Linked DNA regions of Homo sapiens: region 1 is linked to region 2. Evidence: promoter capture Hi-C in human tissues and cell types (Jung and others, 2019). All regions are on one chromosome and are shown on one strand. Each heading gives the region's core, a stretch centred on a gene start or on the middle of the fragment in contact. The rest is flanking DNA. Distances are from core to core; before and after follow the strand shown. Region 1 has its middle 31 kb from the start of CASC8. Region 2 holds the start of POU5F1B (POU class 5 homeobox 1B).

Region 1 (4,939 bases), core at 1,221-3,720, 97 kb after region 2:
AAAGTCAAGATTAGGCAATAAAAAGCTAGGAGGAAATAGTTGATTAATTGTGTCAACAGTGAATTAATAAGGACATGAAAGGAATTTGCAACATGTACTTTTAGCAACACTGATTCATTGCTACAGAGTGATAAGTCAAGAAGGAAAAAACAGAAGATGGTATCAACTGGTAGGCTAAGAGGAGGGTCTAACCTTTTGGCCAATTTGCTGAGCAATCAATTCGAATTTACATCCAAATGGTCATTTGGTCTCAGAATAATGAAGAACAGAGAAATAAGAAGGTAGAAACTCACTAAATGAAATCATGACTACTCTAACTCTCCTTATCCTTCCAGATGCTGTTTAATCACATCATTTGTTGGTGTTTGCATTTGTTTATTAGTATTTGTATTCACTGAGAGGCCCACACAGCTCACTCTCAGAGTCTGGCAGCTCCAAGGAGATCACTTCCACTGTAGGTAGATTTGCTCTTACCAGCATCATTGCCTTAGAAGGGGAGAGTGTTCCATCTGCCTTAGTCAACAGTAGTAATAGTAGTAGCAATGGTGGTGACAGAAATAGGTAGCAATGGTTGTGTTATGGAAATTCACATTTATTGAAATCTCATCAGTGACCATGTACTGGCCAATCATTTAACTACATCTCAGTTAATGTTCAAAACTCACCTGCAAGTGACTTACAATCTTTTATTCAACTAATATTTAATCACACCTTCTAGGCACTGGGGATATAGCACTGAACACACCAGATGAGATCTTCAGCCTCATGTCAATTATTGCTTGCTGGTGAGAGAAGAAAGACAACAGACAAAAAAAAAAAAAAAAAAGTAACCGCACTAGATAACGCATTTTCTTTTTCTTTATTTTTTTTTTAAATTATACTTTAAGTTCTAGGGTACATGTGCAAAATGTGCAAGTTTGTTATACTTTAAGTTCTAGGGAACATGTGCAAAATGTGCAGGTTTGTTTCATATGTATACATGTGCCACGTTGGTGTGCTGCACTCATTAACTTGTCATTTACATTAGGCATATCTCCTAATGCTATCCCTCCCCCTCCCCCCACCTCATGACAGGCCCCGGTGTGTGATATTCCCCTTCCTGTGTCCAAGTGTTCTCATTGTTCAATTCCCACCTATGAGTGAGAACATGATAACGCATTTTCTAACATGTGACAGAAAGTGACTGAAAGGTGAACTCTGTGTTAGGTAGGAGAAAACTTATTAGTCTCATTTTACCAATGAGGCATTAGAGGCTCAGAGAAATTAAGTAACTTCTCCAAGATCACATAGCTACCCACGGACAGAGCAAGTCTGTCTAAATAGGAAGCAATAAAATAGCATACACAGCAGAATATAGTCAAGAATTAGATGTATTATGCTTTAAGCCTTTGTTTCGTAGCTTCTTAAGAATAGGAAGAAAAGTCAGTGTTGGCTACATTGGCTAGAAATCTTCACGAAGGAAGAAAAAGTTAAGCTTGTCTTGGAGCGTGGTTAGGATTTAGACAGGTAGAAAGAAAGAAAAGAGTTGTGAGCAGGAAGAAATGGGTATTTATCGAGGACTTATTAAGTGGCAAGAACAAGACAAAAAGTTTTAGATATGGTGTTTTAGTAAATATTTAAAGTTTTTTTTTTGTTTTTGTTTTTGTGTTTTTTTGAGACGGAGTCTCACTCTGTCGCCCAGGCTGGAGTGCAGTGGCGCAGTCTCGGCTCACTGCAAGCTCTGCCTCCCGGGTTCACACCATTCTCCTGCCTCAGCCTCCCGAGTAGCCGGGACTACCAGGCGGCCGCCACCACGTCCGGCTAATTTTTTGTATTTTTTAGTAGAGACGGGGTTTCACTGTGTTAGCCAGGATGGTCTCGATCTCCTGACCTTGTCATCCGCCTGCCTCGGCCTCCCAAAGTGCTGGGATTACAGGCGTGAGCCACTGTGCCCAGCCAAATATTTAAAGTTTTTTAAATTCAGGCTGGTTACATGACCTTTCGAGGTGACATAAGATGCTGGGTGTTGGGCATGTAGGTAGCAACTGGCACGCTGTATGCAGGGAACACTAAAATGGCTCAGGTACCTGAGGAAGAAATTTACATTGGGGACTATTGAGAAGTATAATTCAATGGGCTAGCAAACCAATGAGAGGCAACTGAAGACATTGAAGGAGAGGTGGTGGAAGCTGGAAGTGGCATAGGAGACAACAGGAACTGTAGCAATTTTTTCAACAAGGAAGTAAAACTCAGATGTTGGAACTGAAACCATCTTTTACCATACTCTTTCATCTTGGAGTCATCACTCTCAAATATGGCTCCCCAGAGATGCTCCCTTCTCGTATGATATTAGAATTAGTTGTATCACTTATTTGCTAGACTGGGCTACAGAATAAGAACACAGACTATGTCAACCCCTCTATCCTCTTAGAATCTGGCATGGGATCAGGCACACATTGTTTGATTTCAACTGGCAAGGCCATGGCAATCAGGCAGACAGGTTAGCTAGAAAATGGTGAAAAAATGGCACCAAATTAGGGCATCACAGCACCAGATAAAACTAAGCAGAGATTCACCTGAGGTGGCCCGAGGCAGCAGAGCCGGAGGGGCCTGACTCTGATCCTACAAAGGGGAACTCAGAATCATCACTGTGAAGGTGAGAAGAGCCATCAATTCTAAAGGATGAAGGAGGATAAACTGATAGAAGAAAAATGAGCCAGGACATCAGAAAGAAAATTAAAAACAAAGTGGAATACAGTGTGAAGATTGATTTGGGGCAAAAGATTTGAAACTAAGACCATGAACAATGAGATTCGTTAATGGAGTTTCCCTTTGTATGATGCCTAGACCCAGCAACAGGGCAGTTGCAGTGATTTAAGGATGACTCACAGGGATGGATACCTGTTGAACACACCTTAAAAAGGTGAAAGAAAGGTAGGAAGGAAACGAGATAGATGTGAGAAACATAGATAAGGACAGGGAACTGAGGAAAGGGAAAAAGGAAATAATCCATGATATTTTCAGAAATGATTTATAACAGGGATTGGTAAACTATGACCCTGAGACAAATTCAGTATACTGTTTCTATAAATAAAGCTTTGTTAAATCACAGCCACACCTATTCATTTAAGTAATATCTATGCCTGCTTTCAAACCATAGTTGCAGGGTTGTTGCAAGAAAGATTATCTAGCTCACAAAACCCAAAATATTAACTATCTAGCCCTTAACAGAAAAGGTTTGCCACCCTAGTCTATAGTAAAGGAGTATTGCAATATGGATGCTAAGTGGCTAAAGATAAAGCTGACATTCTATATCAGGGCCAGAATTTTGAATGCCTTGCTAAGGTGTTAGAACTTTCTCTGCAGGCAATAAGGATCCATGCAAATAGCCTAAAATTTTTCTCTACATAAGCATAATTCAAAACCAATCAAAGAACTCGACAGTGGCAATCAATGTGGCACATGAACAATAAGAACACTACTGGCATGTTTAATCAACCAAGCTCTCTTCTGGCTTCAACTGCCTAAGACTTAAGAACTGTATGCTGGTCACCAGTCTGCCAAATTAGAGAGTCACAATGCCACTGTGGTCTTTAAATTTCTAATGTCCAAAATGGGGGAAATAATCCCACCTGTGGGCTTATTATGAACATAAAATTTAGATAATAGAGAAAAAAATATATTAAATAAATAAAATATTTTACAAAGGTCTGACATCACTCATTCACTTACTCAATGAAAAAAAATGTATTTAGTGCCTGTTGTGCGCAGAGGAATCCAGAGATGAGGGAGATTAAGGCCCATAGACTAGAAGGAAAGATGGGATGCAAACGGCAGTGCCAAGTTCACACATAAAGCAAAGTAGGGAGGAAACCACTCAGCTTGAGAAGAAGTAGGCTGTCAGGAAAAGGGTCCATAGGAAGGGTTTCCAGCAAGGAAGAAAAGATCATGATGCTGAGGAAGGAGATGAAGCTGCTTTCTATGTACAACAAGTGCAAAGGCCTAATGTAGTTCAAAGTGAGTGGCACCTAGAAGCCAACTGTGGATGCAAACAGAAATGAAGCAAAAGATGGAGGGAGGATATGAAAGGTTTTCTATGCTATGCCAAGGAACTTGGACTTTATCCATTGGAAGTAGTAAGCCTTTGAAGGATTTGGCTTCCAGGAAAGACATGGTCAGAACTGGGTCACAAATGTCTCCATTGATCAGACTGTTAGTTGAGATTCCAGCTTTTCCTCCCCTGCATGAATGAGGGGGGCAGAGCTTAAGACTGGTCATGACAGACCTCTCAATGACCTTTCCATTTCAGGCAAGTCAAGGTTACCACTCATAGTCATCGTCCTAGCAGCCATTGGGGAAAAGCAGCTGGACAAGAGAAAAGAATGACGGCACATGAAACACCCTTGAATAATCCCCCTAAATTGACCCCCGGCCCTGGGACATCTGCCTACAAAAGAAACCGTGCCTGCATCTGTGCTATGTTTCACATTTCCCAGGCCCGTATCTTCTCCAAACGCAATCTGGACAGCCAATATTTATCAAGCAAGAGAGGAAACAATCAACATATTCAGGAGAGGATGGAAAGAGCAAGATAATTTCTTGATTTGGGTTTACACAGTGGATCAGGGTTTGTGTTGTTCTCTCACCTCCAAAAACCTCATTGATATCTTCTCCACCTTAGAGGAAAAGAGGACTAGGAAGTTATTGATATAAAAAGAATTGCCATGGGAAGGATGCCCACGTGGGACAGTGCCAAAGCTCTCTCTCCTGATGGGACCCTCTGCTAATGGAACCACTTGACCAAGAAGGACAATTTTTTATTTTTGTTCCTAAAACTTCAGAGTGTCATGGAAGAGAAAACAGGACCCGGTTGCAGTTTGACATGCACAGAAGCCCAAAAAGGACTCATTGCTGCTGAGAGGTAGTGTCATCAAAAAGGAAAGTATGGGTCTTGTAGGCA
Region 2 (5,182 bases), core at 314-2,813:
CATGATGGAAATGGAATAGAATCAGGAATTGTTTTGTACCTGTGTGTGTGTGACTTTGGTGTTCTGACTCAGACACATATTTGAGAGGTAGAGAGGGGAGAAGAGGGTTGCCACATTATGTAACAGAAAGGAGCCCACTGCTTAAACACTTACCTTGTGCCAGACATTGCACTAGGACTTTATTACCTGCAACCCATCCTGCAAAACTGTGAAGATTTGATATGATCATTCTCATTTTATGGTTGAGAAACAAGGGTTAAGGACATTAAAAATTTACTCAATGTTTAAACATTTGCCTGTCTTATTCTAAAGCCCCTTCTCTTTTCACAATCCCTTTAAGAAATGGACATCCAATATTTGAGTGGCAGAGGCAAAAACATGGCCTACCAGAACCATTATGATAGCTTTACAATATGCCCACCAATTATTTGATAGTCCTCCTGCCAAATGGTGAAGGCTAATTACCCTCCTACAGAATGTGACTCACTTCTAATGAATAAAATATGGCACAAGTAAAAGTGTGCGATTTCAGAGACTAGGTCATAAAGAACGCAGTGGCTTCTTCCCTGCTCTCTCTTTCTTAGGTCATTCTCTCTGGGTGAATCCAGCTGACATGTTGTGAGGACACTCAAGCAGCTTTATGGAAAAGCCCACATGGTGAGCAACTGAGGCCTCCTACCAACAGCCAACAAGAAACCGGGGCCTTTGCCAACAGCCAAGTAAGTGAGACATTTTGGAAAGTGGATCCTCCAGCCCCCGTTAGGCTCCCAGATGACAACATCCCCTGCTCTCATCTTGACCACAACCTCATGAAATACCCTTATCCAGGATACCCAGTTAAGCCACACCACAATTGCTATTTTACAAAACTGTGAGCTATGTGTTAGTTGTTTTTAAGCTATTAAGTTTTGAGGTGATCTATTACACAATGATAAACAACTAATACACCCATCCAGTGCTGAAGAAAGGGGTTGTCAGGAGGGTAGAATTTGCACTATTAAATCTTCATAGAGTGCTATTTCCCGTCACTACAGCACACTTGTCACCAACTATAAAGAATTAGGTCAGGGAATTTCTTTGGTTGCAGCCCATTTTGCCTTTGGTTGTTAATGGTAGAACCGTTTCCCCACAATCTGCAGGAAATAAGAATCAGAAAGAAGGACACACCATTCCATAGCACAGAACACAAGTAGATGGCTCCCATGAAGAATCTAGCATCATGGTATGGCAGAAGCAGAATGGACTCAGGAATCATGGTGCCTACACTGGAATTTCAGATCGGCCACTGACACAATGGACACATTATTCAACATTTCCAAATCTTGGCATTCTTATCCACAAAGTGAAGATAATAATTGTCAATTCACAGGTGATTATGATTTAAAGAGATTACTTTTGAAGAGTTCCTAACACATTCAGTCAACATTTAATGATGCTTCAGGCACTGTGTTCATTGCTAGTGAGCGTATGACACACACAGCCATACGGTCACAGAGCTTTCAATGAAAAGTAACATAATTGCTCATTTCACCAGGCCCCCGGCTTGGGGCGCCTTCCTTCCCCATGGCGGGACACCTGGCTTCGGATTTCGCCTTCTCGCCCCCTCCAGGCGGTGGGGGTGATGGGCCATGGGGGGCGGAGCCGGGCTGGGTTGATCCTCTGACCTGGCTAAGCTTCCAAGGCCCTCCTGGAGGGCCAGGAATCGGGCCGGGGGTTGGGCCAGGCTCTGAGGTGTGGGGGATTCCCCCTTGCCCCCCGCCGTATGAGTTATGTGGGGGGATGGCGTACTGTGGGCCTCAGGTTGGAGTGGGGCTAGTGCCCCAAGGCGGCTTGGAGACCTCTCAGCCTGAGAGCGAAGCAGGAGTCGGGGTGGAGAGCAACTCCAATGGGGCCTCCCCGGAACCCTGCACCGTCCCCCCTGGTGCCGTGAAGCTGGAGAAGGAGAAGCTAGAGCAAAACCCGGAGAAGTCCCAGGACATCAAAGCTCTGCAGAAAGAACTCGAGCAATTTGCCAAGCTCCTGAAGCAGAAGAGGATCACCCTGGGATATACACAGGCCGATGTGGGGCTCATCCTGGGGGTTCTATTTGGGAAGGTGTTCAGCCAAAAGACCATCTGCCGCTTTGAGGCTCTGCAGCTTAGCTTCAAGAACATGTGTAAGCTGCGGCCCTTGCTGCAGAAGTGGGTGGAGGAAGCTGACAACAATGAAAATCTTCAGGAGATATGCAAAGCAGAAACCCTCATGCAGGCCCGAAAGAGAAAGCGAACCAGTATCGAGAACCGAGTGAGAGGCAACCTGGAGAATTTGTTCCTGCAGTGCCCGAAACCCACACTGCAGATCAGCCACATCGCCCAGCAGCTTGGGCTCGAGAAGGATGTGGTCCGAGTGTGGTTCTGTAACCGGCGCCAGAAGGGCAAGCGATCAAGCAGCGACTATGCACAACGAGAGGATTTTGAGGCTGCTGGGTCTCCTTTCTCAGGGGGACCAGTGTCCTTTCCTCCGGCCCCAGGGCCCCATTTTGGTACCCCAGGCTATGGGAGCCCTCACTTCACTGCACTGTACTCCTCAGTCCCTTTCCCTGAGGGGGAAGTCTTTCCCCCAGTCTCCGTCATCACTCTGGGCTCTCCCATGCATTCAAACTGAGGTGCCTGCCCTTCTAGGAATGGGGAACAGGGGAGGGGAGGAGCTAGGGAAAGAGAACCTGGAGTTTGTGGCAGGGCTTTTGGGATTAAGTTCTTCATTCACTAAGGAAGGAATTGGGAACACTAAGGGTGGGGGCAGGGGAGTTTGGGGCAACTGGTTGGAGGGAAGGTGAAGTTCAATGATGCTCTTGATTTTAATCCCACATCATGTATCACTTTTTTCTTAAATAAAGAAGCCTGGGACACAGTAAAAAAAAAAAAAAAAGAAAGAAAAGAAAAGTAACATAATTGAGTAATAATTTTTTAAGTGTGGTAAAATGTGTGGCACGTAGTAGGTATTCAATAAATACTTGCTTTTTTCCTCCTTTTTACCTTTTCCTAGAGTGCTACTTGATGGTAGCTGTAGTTTTTCTTCAAGACATCCTATTTGTCCTGATACAAAACCTCTTTTGACCGCTAACGGCATAGTTCGGCCCTCACCATTCCCTCACATATTCCACAAAAATGTGAGCATTAACCATTCCCCATGATACAGATAATTCATTTTTTAATTTAATTTTTTAAAATTTTATTTATTTACTTATTTATTTTGAGACCAGGTTATGAGACTGGCTAATTTTTGTATTTTTGGTGGAGATGGGGTTTTGCCATATTGTCTAGGCTGGTCTCAAACTCCTGAGCTCAAGGGATCCTCCTGCCTGGGCCTCCCAAAGTACTGGGATTACAGGCATGAGCCATTGCACCTGGCCCGGATAATTTTTTTTCTTTTTTTGAGGTAGTGCCTTCCTTTATAGCTCAGGCTGGAGTGCAGTGGTGTGATCTCGGCTCACTGCAACCTCTGCCTCCCAGGTTCAAGTAATTCTCCTGCCTCAACCTCCTGAGTAGCTGGGATTACAGGCGCCCACTACCACGCCCGGCTAATTTTTGTATTTTTAGTAGAGATGGGGTTTCACCATGTTGGCCAGGCTGGTCTCGAACTCTTGACCTCAGGTGATCTGCCTGCCTTGGCCTCCCAAAGTATTGGGATTGTAGGCGTGAACCACCACGCCCGGCCCTGAAAATTCATTTTTAAAAGAACATCATATCTACCTTAAATGCATTAAGATTTCACATTAGACTCATTATTCATAGTGAACATTAGGAACTTAAGTCCACTCAGTAATAATGCACCTATTCATGACTCTTGATTCAAAGATGTGCACCTATTTACCCTGGACCAGCTCCTTGGAAGGACATGAAATAGAGGGTAATAATCACATCTTTCCAAATTTGCTATGAAACTGCATCGCCAAAAACTGAGACTCATTTTCCGATTGATGAATCAAATGACAACAAAATCTCCAGGGCATTCTGAAACCCAACAGGGATTAATGATTAGGCATACCAGTGGTAGTTAGGAGACTTGCCCAAATTTCCAGTTTTCTGCAGATGGCATCTAAGTTAGAAGACTGTCATAAATTTATTCATGGCTTGGCTTTCTGCTATTTGCTCATTGGTGACACTTTTATATACAATGGTGTTTCTATGGCTAGGAAATCCCAGTGGAGATCAAGAAACCTGGGTTCTACAAACTAATGGGGTGACCTTTGATTAGTCCTAACTCCCTTCCTAAGCCTCAGTTTCTTTAGACATGAAATGAAAGCAATGGATTACATTGCCTTAGACTTTTTCCTAGATCGAAAATGTGATAATTGTGCCTTTCCAACAATAATTGATACCACTAGTGAACATTCTTTCTTAAGCACATCTATTAAGGACTTCATTTATATTATTTTTCTAATCTTTAAGCAAACTCTGAGATAAGTGACTATGATGTTTATTCCATAGGTGCAAAAGATTTGTCAAGTAACTCTCCAAAGTAAAAGAGAGGGCTGGAGTTTAGACTCATGACTGTTCTGCTCTAACCCAAGTGATTCTGGATCCCAGACTCCCCAAATGACAAGTTATTCCAGAAATACTCAGAAAAAGGAGGGTGCCGTATGTCGCACATGGAAAAATAGAAAAAGTAACAGAATCCAGCCAAAGGATTCCCAGAAATTGAGGCTCTTCTGTTCTTGGCATTTGCATCTTTGGATGTGTGTTTTTTACATTGCTCTATGCAAAAGGTATGTTTCAATGTGATTTTTTTTTTCTCCTCCCATCCTACCACTGAGGAATCACAGGGAATAGACTCGACACCTGTGAACTCAATTTACCCTAGAAAAATGTTTCAGTCACACTTAAAATAAAAAGGGCATCAATTAGAATAAGAAGGACACTTTGTTGCCTAGGAGGACTGAACTTTTTTGGACCTGGGGCACCTTATCAGCTTCATTTTTAGCTCTAGTATAATCAAAAGGTCAGGATCTCCACTGGACCTTAGAAATTTTTTATTTTTCGATAAGATTTTCTGAATGCCTGCCATGTGTGAAGGGAAATGCCTGGACTTCTATGCATATGTATTTCATTGTCTCCCCACATCTACCCAGGAAGACAGGCACAGTGAGCCTTGCATGTTGTAGATAAGGAAGCTAAGTCTCAAAGACAGAGAAGGAATTTCT

Evidence for each region. Contacts are between HindIII fragments. The study calls those that stand out against the background at their distance.
Region 1: a fragment that was not itself captured here is called in contact with the fragment with the promoter of POU5F1B in region 2 in 3 of the 25 tissues and cell types used here (lymphoblastoid cells, small bowel and thymus).

What each region holds. Positions count from the first base shown.
Region 1 is chr8:127,510,196-127,515,134 of GRCh38, forward strand. No RefSeq gene overlaps it. Among named protein-coding and RNA genes, the nearest start is that of CASC8, 31 kb to the left of the region's middle. The HindIII fragment of the contact is 3,582 bases long and covers 680-4,261 here.
Region 2 is chr8:127,414,304-127,419,485 of GRCh38, forward strand. POU5F1B (POU class 5 homeobox 1B) reads left to right here and starts at 1,564. Exons shown (of 1, transcript NM_001159542.3): 1 at 1,564-2,643. The coding sequence starts at 1,564. The coding sequence ends at 2,643. All of the region lies in intron 5 of CASC8 (cancer susceptibility 8), which reads right to left. The HindIII fragment of the contact is 11,415 bases long and covers 1-4,274 here.